Regions from separate parts of the Homo sapiens genome. Here region 2 is linked to region 1. Evidence: promoter capture Hi-C in human tissues and cell types (Jung and others, 2019). All regions are on one chromosome and are shown on one strand. Each heading gives the region's core, a stretch centred on a gene start or on the middle of the fragment in contact. The rest is flanking DNA. Distances are from core to core; before and after follow the strand shown. Region 1 holds the start of RAB32 (RAB32, member RAS oncogene family). Region 2 overlaps GRM1 (glutamate metabotropic receptor 1).

Evidence for each region. Contacts are between HindIII fragments. The study calls those that stand out against the background at their distance.
Region 2: a fragment that was not itself captured here is called in contact with the fragment with the promoter of RAB32 in region 1 in 2 of the 25 tissues and cell types used here (mesendoderm cells and thymus).

What each region holds. Positions count from the first base shown.
Region 1 is chr6:146,541,680-146,545,253 of GRCh38, reverse strand. It overlaps RAB32 (RAB32, member RAS oncogene family), which reads right to left and starts at 1,421. Exons shown (of 3, transcript NM_006834.5): 1 at 1,133-1,421. The coding sequence starts at 1,382. RefSeq lists a silencer at 1,468-1,847. The HindIII fragment of the contact is 12,240 bases long and covers 1-3,574 here.
Region 2 is chr6:146,190,156-146,194,058 of GRCh38, reverse strand. The region is part of intron 2 of GRM1 (glutamate metabotropic receptor 1); the gene reads right to left. Among named protein-coding and RNA genes, the nearest start is that of GRM1, 160 kb to the right of the region's middle. The HindIII fragment of the contact is 3,268 bases long and covers 888-3,903 here.

The DNA.
Region 1 (3,574 bases), core at 172-2,671:
TGTTGACCAGGCTGGAGTACAGCAGTGAGAACACAGCTCACTGAAGCCTTGACCTCTCCTAGGGTCAAGTGATCCTCCTGCCTCAGGCTCCTGAGTAGCTGGGACTACAGGCACGCACGACCACACTTGTCTAATTTTTTGTATGTATGTATGTATATATGTATGTATGTATTTTGTAGAGACAGGGTCTCACTAACAGCCCAGGCTGGTCTCGAACTCCTGTGCTCATGCGATCCTCCAGTCTAGGCCTTCCAAAGTGCTGGGATTACAGGCGTGAGCCACTGGCACTTGGCTTGGTACCATTTCTATGAACTTTCCAATAGTTAACATCATCTTTAAAACGCCCACTCCCAACCACCACACCAGGCAAAGTTCAAGTGTTCATAAATCAGAGCAGAGGGAAATGTACCCCCTCAAACAGAACAAATGAAAGCAAATGGCAGAGAAACACTGTATTGAGGAGTGGGGGGGGGGCGGGGGGGGGCGAGGGCACCAGGGATGGGACTAGGTGTTGGTTTAGCAAGAGAGGAAGGGGTGAGTGTAAGGTTTCAGAAAAGCTTTCCCAAATCTTCACGGAGTGTCTGTCCTCGGCTTCCGATGAGAGCAAAGTATTTGAGGAATGGAGTTTCCCTCACAAAGGCCAGTCTCAGAGCCAAGGCGGGTGGTGGAAAATGATCTGGAAAGGAACCTGGCTTTTGGTCTTGGTGGTGTCACTAACTAGGAGTGCAGCTTCGGGTTAAGTCACCCAATCCCTCTGAACTTGAGTTGAGGCTGAGAGGCGCCGGCCCGCTCCAAAGCAGCCTTCTCAACTAGTCCTGGTGTATGTATGATATACTTGCATTATTCAGAGTTCAAACTTCTGGAAAAGGCCCCCTGGCCTCCTCGCCTCCCTTCAGGAGAGCGAGCTCTGGCGTGCAGGACCTGCTCCAACTCCTACTGCCCATCCCATCCTCTGGGCCCCACCGAGTCCAGCCGACCGCGTCCATCGCATCTCGCCCTTGGATTGGGCCTCTCTCTTCTCCTAAAGGTACCCAGGCAGACGAGTTCAGGCAGAAAAGAAAAAGAAAAGAAGCAGAGAGGAGCCAGGCGGCCCGGCGGGGCTCTGGAGTGGGAAACTCGCGGCCGCGCTTACCCGCGATGTCCCACAGCTGCAGGCGCACCAGAGTCCTGCTGTCCCAGTTGAGGACCTTGAGGGCGAAGTCCACCCCGATGGTGGCCCGGTAGTGCTGGGAGAAGAGCTGGTGGACGTAGCGCTTGATGATGCTGGTCTTGCCCACGCCAAGCTCGCCGATCACCAGCACCTTGAAGAGGTGCTCGCGGGTCTCGGGCGCTGGGGCGGCGGCCGCCCCCAGGCCGGGGTCCCCGGCTCCTCCGCCCGCCATGAGCGCTGCGGCTGTCGGGCGCGCCTCGACTCCGAGTCTGGCCCCCTGCCCGGCCTCGCGCTCTGCCGCCGCGCCCCCGGCGGCCGCGGAAACTCCCCCGAGGCCGGCCAGCCCTCCGCCGCGCCCGCTGACGCCGCCTGACCGGTCACAGGACCCAGAACCCGCCAGTGCTCGCGGCCCGGGCGGGGCCAGACGAGGGCAGGGCCGGACGAGGGCAGGGCCTGGCGCCGGCTTGGGGAGGACCCTGCGCGAGGCGGCTCCCGCCCTGCGCCTCTGAAGCCCGGCCGGGCCCAACTGGACTTCCTCTCCCGGGCGGCGCCTCCGAAGCCCGGCCGGGCCCAGCTGGACTTCCTCTCCCGGGCGGCGCCTCCTGGCGGTCGCGGCGCGGAGGGAGGCCCAGACGCCCGCTGGTGGGCCTCCGGGGAGCCGGCCTGGAGCCTTTATGGGCCCCGGAGGTTCACTGGGGGCCTGAGGAGGCGCCGAGGTCGCTGAGCCCCCCCCGGGGCCGGGGTCGGCGTGGGGTCCGGGCCCAGCCTGGAAGCCTCTGGCCTGGAAATCCACCTCCTGCCCTACTCTCCCCGCAGGGAGAGCCACACTTGCGGGCCTTGGCTTGGGTCGCGAGCAGTCCCCTTTAGATGGGAAAGGAAGTGGCACCGTGACTTTGAACTTAACGAAGGACGGATAACACTGGGCTGGTAGTTCTGTTTTTAACTTTTTGAGTGAACCTCCGTAGGGTTTTCCATAATGGCTGTTCCAGTCCGCATTCCCACCACCAGTGTACAAGGTTCCCTTTGCTCCGCACATCACCGACACTTATTATCGCTTATCTTTTTTATAACAGTCATCCTAGCAGGTGTGAGGAGATACCTAGTGGCTTTTCCCTGTTCATTAGTGATTTTGAGCGCCTTTTCTTATACCTGTTGGCAATTTGTACTTCCTCTGGAAAAAAAAAAAAAGTCCATTCACATCCTTTGCCCGTTAGTTAACTGGGTGTTTTATTTATTTATTTTGGCTGAGTTCTGTGAACGTAATGTATTTTGGATATTAACCCCTTATCAGATATATGGCTCACAAATATTTTCTCCCAATCTATAGGCTGTTTTTTCATTTTGTTGATTATTTCCTATGCGGTGCAGAAGCATTTTAGTTGGATGAAGTCCCATTTATCTAGGTTTGCTTTGGTTGCCTGGGCTTTTGGTGTGATATTGCAAAAATCGTTGCTAAAGCCAGTGACCCAGCTATCCCTCTTCTGGGTGTATACTCAAAGGAAATGAAATCAGGATCTCAGAAATCGCTCTCAAGTTCATGCAGCATTATTCACAGTTGCGAAGATTTGGAAACAACCAAAGTGTCTGTTAACGATGAATGGATAAAGAAATTGTAATACATACATAGGCATGCACGCGCGCATATACACAGACGCACACACACACACAATGGAATATCATTCAGCCTTTAGAAGGCGATCCTGACATTTGCAACAACATGGATAAACCTGGAGGACATTATGCTAAGCGAAATAAGCCAGACACAAAAAGAAAGATACTGTGCAATATCACTTATATGTGGAATCTTAAACACACACACACACACACACACACACACGGAATACGTGGAAACAGTGGTGGTTACCAGGGGCAGGGAAGAAACGGAATGATGCAGGTCAAAGTGTACAAAGTTGCAGTTATATAGGATGAATGAGTCCTAATGATCTAATGTAGCATGAGCGTTATAGTTAATAATATTGTATTTTAAACTGGAAATTTGCTAAGAGAGTAGACTGTAAGTGCTGTTACCATTAAAAAAAAATTGCAGCCAGGTGTGGTGGCACCCACCTGTAGTCCCAGCTACCCAGAAGACTGAGGTGGGACGACTACCTGAGCCTGGGAGGTCCAGGCTTCAGTGAGCTTAATCGCACCACTGTATTCCACCTGGGCGACAGAGTGAGACCATCTCAAAAAAAAAAAAAAAAAAAAAGAAAAGAAAAAATGAAAAGAAAAAATTGTGTAACTATGTGAGATGATGGACATGTTAATTTGTTAATTTGCTTAACTCTAGTAACTATTTCACTATGTATATCAAAGCATCATGCCGTATACCTTAGATATAGATATATATATATATACACACACACACAACAAAATAGTCTATTAAAAACCTTATCATGCTTTAGCATTTAAATTATGGAAGGA
Region 2 (3,903 bases), core at 1,272-3,771, 350 kb after region 1:
AAAAAGGGGTTAGATCCAAGTGTAAAAAAAAGTTATGAAGATATTGAACTTCCATATGCTGTTGAAGAGAAGGTAAACAAGTTCAGCTACTAATACTAAAAAAAAAAATCTGGCAGTATTTCATAAAAATGAAGAATGTCCATGTCCTAAGACCTAGTAGTTACATTCCTAGGTATGTACCCCAGAGAAATACTAGCACAAGACTAAAAGGGGACAGGAAAGTTCACTAGGGCAGTGACTTAGAAACTACATAGGTCTCCATCATCAGAGAAATGGAGTTAAAAATACAGTAGAATGCGCAAGTAAAAAGCAACAACCTAGACGTATGACCTAGAATGCATTTTAAAAACATGATGTTAAAAAAAAAGGTAAGAACAAAAAATGTATTGCATTATAACAATTACATGTTGTAAAACCTGAGACACACAAAATATGTATCTCACACTTTTGCTTCCACCCTACCAAAATGGTGCTTGTGTGCATCATCAATAAGCATCAGTGGCTAAATACATCATCTCCACCTTGTGATCCACTGACAGCCCTTGACACAGGTGACCACTCACTCCAGTTGTACTTTTTTTCACTCGGCTTTAGGACACCACACTCTCCTAGGTGTTAATCTCCCTCTCATTGGCTGCAGTGTCTCAGTCTCTTTACTTGCTTGTAGTTATTTTCTCATGGTCTAGATGTCACAGTACCCCAGGGTTCAGTCCTTGGACAACATCCCTTCTCTAAATTCCACTCACAACCTTGATGATCTCATCCAGACACATGATTTCAAATAGTATATATATCCTAATGACTCCCAAATGTGCATCTTCAGCCCAGAGCTCACCTTTGAATTTAGACTTGTATATCTAACTGTCTATTTAACATCTTCACATCCATAATAATAGGCATCTTAAATTTAATATACTCAAAATTTATCTTTCTCTGTTCTAGTCCACAAACCTACCCCACTTAGGGGCATCCTCATCTCAGAAAATGGCAAATCCATTTTTCCAGTCGCTTGGTACAACAAAAAATTTTTACCTTACATCCAGTAGTTAACAAAACCTGTTGCCTCTACCATGAACTCTATCCTTAATCTGGCCACTTTTCACCCACAACTATTTCTTCTATGCCGGTCATCTTCCTCACAATCACTCACTTGGATGATAGTAAAAGCTCCTTCTTCCAGCTGTGCCCACCTAGAGCCCACAGTCCATATAGCAGGCAGAAAAGCCTGTTTAAAATGTCAGTCAGACCATATGTATAACTAAAAAGTTTCACAAAAATACTTTTTGCTAGTACATACAATTCACTCTAATATTTTCTATTGTATTACATTTAAAAATAAAGATCAGTAAATTGACTTCATAACCCACTAATTGGTCACAACACAGTTTAAATGTGCTGGTTACTGGTTTAGAAAGAGTAAGAATAGTGAGAATTTTGAAAGTAGGCATTTAAGTTGGATGGCAATAATGAAGGGAACAGGAGGATGAGAGAGATAAGCTAACGACAATCATTATTTTAATTTCATACTTACATATATCGGGTATTTTATATGCCAGGAATTCATGCTAAATAATACATTGTTCCTTTTAATCCTTAGCCTAATTGACATATGAGGAACCTGAGGTTTTGTATAAGGCCAAGTGCCTAATAAATTATAGAACCAGAATTCTGACCCAGCTGTGTAGATTTTAGTGCCCAGCTTCTTTAACCAGGGTAACATTTTCCTCCATGTATGTCCCATTATTATTCTACAGTTTGGTTATGCTAATTGTAAACCCAGATAATAATCCCATTTATCCTATTTCAACATACTGTCATATAGTTGTTATGACATATTTATTTCAAAATGTTACCATAACCATTCTCATTAAAAGGAGGATGGCAGAACATTATTATTCCACAGACTTTCCCCTTTTCAATAAGTGAACGCTAGCATTTGGAAATTGTCTTAGACCACAATAAAATTTGTTTACACTGAAAGTTAAGCAATCTTAAATTGTGAGGAGGTTAGTAAGTAGTCTGAATAATTACTTACTTGGTCTTAGCACAAACAAAAGATTGCAATAGATCAATATGTTTATCCCAATTTTTCCAACTACTTATGTGATAAATAGTCCTTTCCCCAGCTTGTTTGTGTGCTGTGTGTTCCCTTTTAAACACAGAGAGAAACCATTTATATTCAGCACAAAAACTTGTCAAAGTTAATCTGTCACGGACCAGAGATTGACTGACAGGAAAGAACAAAAGGTGATAGATTGCTTTTAGTGTCAGCATGAAAGAAAGGAAACAGAAAAGATCCAACCAAAGATGGATACGGGAATGAAGAAAATATCTGAAAAAAAGAAGAGAAATTGGGAAAAGCAAAAGAGATCACACAAAACAAAAAGATTAATTAAAGAAACAAGATAGAAAACAGAAAGGATTCAATATTTTCTCCCTTTATGTAATTATTTAGGTAAAACTGTCAAGTGTGACCCCTTGTAGATGATCATAAAGGGACAGTGATGTGACCCTGAAACTAGGGATGGAGGATTCTTAGAAGCAAATCAAATCCACTTTTAATACTTAAGAAAGATAGCTGAGAAAGGCTTCAGCTTAAGTTGGAAATCAAATCAGTAAGAGGGTTAAACAGAGAGGAATCACCGAAGAGGAAACCATCCAGTAAACCACCTCACTCACTAATAGCACAGGCTTCATCACCTGTGCCAGACACTATGCCAAATGTGCAGGAAGCAAATACAAGCAAGACCTGGTCCTTGCCCTCAAGGAACCCACAATCCAGTAGGGATCACCCCGGTCCACAGACCATCAAGACACCCATGGTAATGCCATGACAGAGAAGACACTGAAAGGAATGGGGGCACGATGGCAAGAAGCCTAATCCAGACTAAGGAAGAGGCTGTGGAGAAGATGAATCAATGAAGCTTCCTGAAAGGGGAACTGACCTAGGCAAAGGAGACTTGGAGACCTTTCCAAACAGCAGAGATAGAGCATGCAGAGGCACAGAGGTGAGAGAGAGAGAATGGCAAGTGCATGGAGGATGAGGCAGCTGTGTGATGATATTGAAGAGGTGGTCTAGGGTCCAATCTTAAGGAGCTATGAATACAATTCCAAGGAGCTTGAACTACATCCCAAAGACTAAAATCAGCCTATAATACGTAAATCAGAGGGGTGATGTGTTTTGATATAGCAATGTGAAGAACAAGTGGGAATACAAACAAGATTGGGGAGAGAGAAAATTGCAATGCTCAGCCAAGAAAGTCAATTAGGAGGTTGTGGCAGTAATCCAAATGAGAAATGATGAAGGCCTGAACTGAAGTAGTGGCAATACGGATGGAGATGAGGAGACAGAGCCAAAAAACCATTGAAGAGGTAAAAACAACAAAACATGGTGACCAAAAATTGTCTTTTCTTATTATTTGTGATTCTATTCCTCTTTTTACTTTTTAAGTTACTTCAACTGTGCAGTAAATATTACCCAGCCTCTTTGTGGCTGTTCCGTAATCTCGTTTTGAGAGAGCTGCTCCTCCTGAATTCGTGTTGGCCAACTCCCTCAAGGTGTGATATCGCCTCGTGTACTTTCTACTTTTTCTCATGAGCTCATTTTTAGTGAAACTTTTTTCCCTTAAGAATCTCATGGACCCCAGTTTGGTTATTACATAATTGTTTCATCTTTGCTTTCTTAACACTCCCAGGATGTTTACTAGTTCAAAATGTTTTAAAATTAGTAGCTTGGCTTGAGGAGTCTAACAAAACATTTATAAACTAACTTCAGACTCCATGCTTATTTGTGGCTCTGGCCTAGGATTTCAGCTTTTCACTGGAAAATTTTATTTCCCACCTAGGATTTTGGTAGAGTCAAGTTCTTTGGTGCTTCTCAGGCAGATGTGAAAATTTTCCCCA